Regions from separate parts of the Homo sapiens genome. Here region 1 is linked to region 2. Evidence: promoter capture Hi-C in human tissues and cell types (Jung and others, 2019). All regions are on one chromosome and are shown on one strand. The core of a region is centred on a gene start or on the middle of the fragment in contact, and the rest is flanking DNA. Distances in the headings are between cores, read along the strand shown. Region 1 overlaps GRB2 (growth factor receptor bound protein 2). Region 2 holds the start of ITGB4 (integrin subunit beta 4).

Region 1 (3,394 bases), core at 7-2,506, 370 kb before region 2:
ACTGATCGATTTTCAGTCGTTCTGTGACCCAAGAGCCACCTCAGAGGATGTTATTGAAAGAAGAAAAAGCAATGTTGGTCACAGAACTATTCACCAACGTGTGCATAAGGATACAGGACTGAAAAACTCAAGGCTGGGGTCCTCCCACCAGGACACCGTTAATTTCCAACTCAAAAAGCTAGTTCCAAATGCATTTTCTACTTCTGAAGCAGTTAATCTAGTTCCAAATCGGGAAAGGCTTGTTATAATCACATGACAGAGGAAGAGGAACTGGGGTAGAGTGGCAAGTCCCTACCCCCACCCCCACCCCCACCCCCAGGGTGGAGGCGAATGCAGAGAGTTCAACAGGTAATGACAATACAAACTGCAAATGTGGATTCAAGCTAGTGGACAGGGTCAGGGAGCAGAAAACACAGGGACCTAAACTAGTCTCGGGGTGGGGGCTGCCTGAGAAAGCCTCCCCAAGCCAGTGACATTTGAAGGGAGATCAAAGGCTCTCCTGTGGGTGGTCTGGCAGAAGACCACAGTATGCAAATTAAGAAGCTCAAGCTTATATGTTACAATCATCAGAAGTCGCTGAGAGTGACATTCAGGTTTGCATTTTTCAAAAGCTCCTCTGGCTGACTGTGAGATGAACTGCAAGGAGGTGCAGGTGGGTGGGGCAGTGCGGTAGAGAGGAGAGAGTCGAGGTATTTCTGGAGGTAGAATCAAAAGGACTTGGTGATGAGATGCTGCTCAGTGGTCTTCCTCTCGGCCACTGATTTTTTTTTTTTTTTTTTCTGAAAACTGCTTTAGAAAAACTGCTATATTGGCTGGGCACAGTGGCTGATGCCTGTAATCCCAGCACTTTGGGATGCCAAGGCAGGCGGATCACTTGAGGTCAGGAGTTCAAGACCCGCCTGGCCAACATGGTAAAACCCTGTCTCTACTACAAAATACAAAAAATTATCTGGGCACGGTGGCGGGCGCCTGTAGTCCCAGCTACTCGGGGGGCTGAGGCAGGAGAATCGCTTGAACCTGGGAGGCAGAAGTTGCAGGGAGCCGAGACTGCGCCACTGCATTCCAGCCTGGGCAATAGAGTGAGACTCCGTCTCCAAAAAACAAAGACAGGTATCAATCTTATGCTGGTATCCTCCATCTGTCTCTCCAGATCCAGTTACACCTTGCTTTTCTTGCCTTTTTTTTTTTTTTTTTTTTTTTGAGACAGAGTCACACTCTTTGCACAGGCAGGAGTGCAGTGGTGCAATCCTGGCTCACTGCAACCTCCACCGCCCGGGTTCAAATGATTCCCCTGCCTCAGCCTCCCAAGCAGCTGGGATTACCACACCTGGCTAATTTTTGTATTTTTTAGTAGAGACGGGGTTTCATCATGTTGGCCAGGCTAGTCTCAAACTCCTAACCTCAAGTCACCTTGGCCTCTCAAAGTGCTGGGATTACAGGCATGAGCCACTGTGCCCAGCCTGCTCTGACTTTTTGGCTCTGTAAGAACCACATCAACAGGCTCCCTCACTCTCTGGCTCCCAGTGCTATTAATCAATGGGGAGGCCTGCAGAAGGTCAGACGAAGGGAGGGTCAGGTCAGGGCATTCATTCTCCCAGCTCCCACCCTGAGAGTGTCTGTGGACAGTCTTGGACTCTCAATTGAAAGTAAGTCCTTTCCTTCTCCAGGTTTGGGCAACTCCTCCCCCTTCCTTCTCCCTGTCGTAGGCCTCATGGTGGTAACCTGATTACCAGCTGTGGACACTGCATTATCCCTGTGGTTTCTAGAGAAACTTCGCCCACACTGATAGCGGCAGGAGGCAGACAAATGCCTCACAGGGGCGGGTCTCCAGTGAAACCCCACCTCTAAGCCAAAGACAACTGAAAGCCTGAAAGCCACACTACAGGTCAAATCCATGGACCGGACTGAGAACCCATCTTCCCATTTGGTAGGCTTTCCTCTGATTGATCCCCACTCTTCACCTATTTTACATCTACCTACCCTTTCCGAATTGATTTTCTACACTGCCATGCCCATCTTTGAGTGGTGCCTTTGCTTTAGCCTTTCTTTGCATGCCCACAAACCATTCAGCATGCATGCCCCTGTTCTGAGCCCATAAAAGCCCCCACCCAGCCACACTGGGAGAGAAACCACCAGACTTCAGGGGTGGGGAACCACTACCTCCTCCGCTCCTGAAAGCTGTTCACCGCTCAATAAAATTCTTCTCCACCCTCCTCACCCTTAAATTGCCAGTGTAACCTCATTCTTCTCAGACACAGGACAAGACCTTGGGAACTGCTGAACCTGGGAACAAGCCATAACACAGGTGAGCTGGGGCATACCCAGCCCAGCCATGAGCTGAGCTGGTGCGCAACCAAGACTTAGCCTGAGTGGGCTGAGTGTGGAGGTCCCCAGCTGGAGTCAACACCTTGCAAATAGTCTCATTATTAAAATCCTCTCAATTTAAGTGTGTCAGGTGTTCTCTACCAGGACTCAGACTGAAATTAGCCTAAAATCAGTTGTATATGTCTTTTGGAATGCATTAAGGACATGCTCCTTTATATAAAGTGACATTTGTTATGGGGCAGAAAGTATCCAAATTCTACCAACTACTTGGAAGAAGAAAACTATAAAAGAGCCAAACAATTCTGTTCTGTTAACCGCTTTTTCAAAATTTGAGACAGGGGTCTTGCTCTGTGGCCCAGGCTGGAGTGCAGAGGCACAATCACAGCTCAATGCAGCCTCAGCCTCCCGGGCTCAAGTGATCCTCCCGTCTCAGATCTTCCCACAAATAGCTCGGACTACAGATGCCAGCCACTACAGCTGGCTACTTTTAAAATTTTTTTGTGGAGGCAGGGTCTCACCATGTTGCCAAGGCTGGTCTGGAACTCCTGGTCTCAAGGTATCCTCCCATCTCAGCCTCCCAAAGTGCTGGGCTATAGGCATGAGCCATAATGCCCAGCCCTATTCTGTTTACTATTAAAAGTTGAGAAAGGGGGTGAAGGTATAAAAACCTCAGATTTGTAATCTGACCATTACTAGACTGGCATAATGACTTGCAGTAGCTGCCCCTTTGAATTGCACTTTAGATATTGTTCAAGTGTCTACTACACTGAAAGCATTGTGTTAGGAAGCTGAAAAGGGAATAAGAATAAAAGGCATGGTCCCTGCCCTCAGAAGTGTTTATGAGCTAAGGGAGCTATGTGTGTAAATAAAGAGGAAATAAGTAAAAAAGTGAGATAAGGGAAATTGCTGATTTTGAGCTGGACACAGAATTCACCGCTACATGTTTCTATTTACTTTTCAGTTTTAGAGACAGGGTCTTACTCTGTTACCCAGGCTAGACAATGCAGTGGCACAATCTCTGCTCACTGCAGCCTCTGCCTCCTAGGCCAAGTGAACTTCCCACCTCAGT
Region 2 (3,642 bases), core at 1,045-3,544:
CTCCCCTCCCAGCAAACCCACATTCTGAAATCAGATACTCCTCAAAGTTTGCACAAGATCTGAGATGGTTCAGGGACTCCCCACTGCCAAGTCCACATGCGGGCTCCAGGTAATGAACCCCAGGACTCCGAGAAGCCAAGGAAGCTCATGGCTTATCTTACTTAGTGAGACCTCCCTGGGTTGACATCTCGCCTCTCAGCTGCTACAGGGCTCCAGGCCCCCTAGTCATTTTCAGAAGGGTTTGCAATGAAGAGAGGAAGGGGCTGCTGAGCCCAGTGGCCTGGGGCATCGCCAGCTCTGGACCTGGGTCTTCTCTAGGAAGAAGCCTCAGCCCCCACCCACAGTGGGGTGTATATGACCCCCTAGTTCTCTAATGGGTGCTGCTGGCAGACCCAGGCCCCTCAGGCAAGCTGTTTTTGGCCGTTCTCTGAGCTCCTGCTCCATGTTTCTGTTTTTTGGGGTGGATAGGTACCTGCTGGAGTGACTCAGGTCCACAGGGCACTTGTGCTGGCCTGACACACACAGATCTGAGTGCTTCAACCAAACTGGGACTCCTTCCACATTGTTCCCAAATCCAGGAGCAAGCCTCTCTGAACACTTTCTCTGTGCAGAACAGCTCTCAGATGACCAGGAAAGGTGGCGACTCACACATTTGCAACCAGCACCCCTGCAATCACTCTGAGAGGTAGCAGTGGAGGAATCTGTTTACAGATGACAGCATGGAGGCTCAGGGAGGCTGTGTGACCATCCCATTCACTCAACCACCCTTTTATTGAGCACCTGCTATGCACCAGGCATGGTGCTAGGTGCTAGAGAGTAGCTGCCCTTGGAGTCACAGTCCAACAGTGTGGCGAGATTCCTAAACATCATTTCAAACCAATGTGGCAAATGCCATGTAAAAGCCATGGCCCAAGGGTTATGGGGACACATAAACCAACTTGGGGTGTGGAGAGGTCAAGGAAGGCTCTCTAGCACGTGGTTGGTGCAACGTCTTCAAGGACAAGAAGGATAAACTGGGCTCAATGTCATGGGAAGGGACCAGCCTGTTGAAAAAGCACGGTGGCTTGAAACCGCATGGTTTGGACAGTGCTGTGCCAGCAGTCTGGTGTTGTTTGGCATTGCTGGCCAGTAAGCCTAGAGAAAAATGGAGCCCTGGCTGGGCATGGTGGTTCACGCCTATAATCCCAGCACTTTGGAAGGCCAAGACGGGTGGATCACCTGAGGTCAGGAGTTCGAGACCAGCCTGGCCAACATGATGTACTAAAAATACAAAAATTAGCCGGGCGTGGTGGCGGGCACCTGTAATCCCAGCTACTCGGGAAACAGGCAGGAGAAGCGCTTGAACCCGGGAGGCAGAGGTTGCAGTGAGCCAAGATTGCACCACTGCACTCCAGCCTCGGCGACAGAGTGAGACTCCATCTAAAAAAAAAAAGAGAGAGAAAACAAAAAGAAAAAGAAAAATGAAGCCCTTCTCTGACCTGAACACCCGTGGTAAGCAGTGGCAATGGAGAGACTGCTCTCAGAGGACTGACGGGAGGGAGGGGCCAGCTCTGTAACCAGCTTGTTAAGAACAACTGTAACAAGGCATCGAGTGCCAATCCATGCCAGGTCGGCACTGACCTCTCCAGGGTATCACTGTTCACACTGTAAGGAGATTTAAGTAGCTTGTTGAAGGGTGCACCGAGGACCCGACCCTTCCTCGGCTCTCCCTCTGGATACAACGTGAGGTTAGGGGTTGGAGGCTGAGAGGACCCCGTGAACTGCAGAGCAGAGCTGGGACGGGGAGTCAGGCCTCCCGACCGGGCCGGGGGCACTCCCTGGGCCCATGCCTCGCGCTGGCACGGAGAGCGGGGAGGGGGGTACGCGGCTGACGACCGTCGGGGCAGCAGCAGCAGCACAGCCCGGCGTTGGCTAGCGGCCCAGAGTCGGGGCAGGGAGGGTTCCCGTGCGGACGGGGGCTAAGAGGCCGCCTCCAGCCCGGGGCAGTCCGCGCACCCGAGCCTGGAGCCCGGAGCCTGGAGGGGTGGGGAGGCCCCGCGCCCAGGGCCGGACCGGAGGGAGAGGGAGAGCGGTGGCTCCTCCCCCGGCCCCCGCCGCTAGCCGATCGGGGCGCTGGGCGGGCGCCGCGGGAGCCGCAGCCCTTTCCGGGGGGCGGACCCGGCTCCGGCGGCGGCACCCAGCTCCTGCCCCGACAGGTGCGCGCCGCGCGAAGGAATGCAGCCGGTCTGACTCACCAGCGCCTCCTTCCTACCTGCGCGCCCGCCCCATAAAGCGCTGCCCGCCTCGTCCCCACCCCCCCAACCCCCGCGCCCGCCCTCGGACAGTCCCTGCTCGCCCGCGCGCTGCAGCCCCATCTCCTAGCGGCAGCCCAGGCGCGGAGGGAGCGAGTCCGCCCCGAGGTAGGTCCAGGACGGGCGCACAGCAGCAGCCGAGGCTGGCCGGGAGAGGGTGAGTGCCCGCCCCAGCTGGGCAGCCGCGCAGGGGAGCTGGTCGGGCAGGGCCGGTGGCTTTTGTCTCCCCTTCCCCTCCCTGAAGGCTGACAGGCCCCGGTCCCTCTGTCCACGCTGCGCAGGACAGGTGCCCAGCCTCCCCGGGGTGCGCCGGGGGCAGCTGGCAGCCAAGGGGCAGGGCAGCTAGAGAAGGGTGGTGCCCATCAGACCTCCAGGCCAGAGGAGCGCCTTGGGTGCGCCTGCGGGAGAAGTGGGCAGAGGCCAGTGGCTGGTAGCCCTCTGGGGCTGGGCCCCTCCAGGGTTTGCAAAGAAGGTGGAGTAGACACCAGCCTGAGTGCTGGGCCCAGCCCATCATGGCGCATCTAATGATAAACCAACATTCCTGACTTTTATGTGAAATTTCGTTCTTTCTAACATTGGCTCCTACTTTTAAAAGCCACCCTGAGAGGCAGACGCCATCCCGGCTCCAGGCAGGGCTTGCTCTATGCGGTGCCACAGTCCATCTGGGGCTGGGGAGTCCCTGATTTTCCTTTTCTCTTGGCCAAGCACAGGCCTGCCTTCCTCCCAAAGTCAGCCCCAGGCGCCTTCCTTCAGGAAGCTCTACAGGCCTCACCCACCAGCCCCAGGGCTGTGCCCAACACTGCCACCTCCTGCAGCATCCGCCCTCTTTCCCATGGCTCAGCCTCTGGGGTGGCCCTCTGGCTGGGACTGGGGCTCTGGGGCTCCTGGTGACTCCCAGGAGCAGGGACAGGGCTTCTCCTCTGCCCCCATGGCCTTGCCACACCCTGAGGACAAGGACCAGGCACAGGTGGCATGGTTGTTGCTGTCCGAAACAGAGCTGGCAGTGAAGGCTTGGAGTCTCCATCCTGGGGGCTGAGGGAAGGACAGCAGGAGGGACAGGAGGGGAGGTATGTCTGTCTACTCGACCCTGATTTCTCAGGGAGACAGAACAGCCAAGGGCCTGGGGTCCCCAGACTTCTGGCCAGCTGCCTCTCTGGGGCGAGGAAGGGCCTGGGTCCCTGAGGGGAGGAGATGTGACAGCGGGAGAGGATAGTGGACAGGAGCAGGTGTGCCCAGAGGGGTCCCCAGGGGTTGGGATGGGGGCCAGGGGAGCTCTGAGCCTGTGGGTGGGTGGGCATGGCCTGTGTGTGTGTGTGTGTGTGTGTGTGTGTGTGTGTCCCTGTGGGGGGGA

What was found. The method cuts DNA at HindIII sites, captures the fragments that hold promoters and counts their contacts. A contact is called where the count stands out against the background at its distance.
Region 1: a contact is called between a fragment that was not itself captured here and the fragment with the promoter of ITGB4 in region 2, in 3 of the 25 tissues and cell types used here (IMR-90 fibroblasts, dorsolateral prefrontal cortex and hippocampus).

Annotation. Positions count from the first base shown.
Region 1 is chr17:75,345,402-75,348,795 of GRCh38, forward strand. All of the region lies in intron 2 of GRB2 (growth factor receptor bound protein 2), which reads right to left. Among named protein-coding and RNA genes, the nearest start is that of SLC25A19, 58 kb to the left of the region's middle. RefSeq lists enhancers at 1-636, 11-290, 1,901-1,960, 1,971-2,050 and silencers at 1,621-1,789, 1,701-1,760. The HindIII fragment of the contact is 8,077 bases long and covers 1-3,394 here.
Region 2 is chr17:75,719,165-75,722,806 of GRCh38, forward strand. It overlaps ITGB4 (integrin subunit beta 4), which reads left to right and starts at 2,295. Exons shown (of 40, transcript NM_000213.5): 1 at 2,295-2,448. RefSeq lists silencers at 1,858-1,917, 1,928-2,317 and enhancers at 2,038-2,576, 2,577-3,115. The HindIII fragment of the contact is 11,256 bases long and covers 1-3,642 here.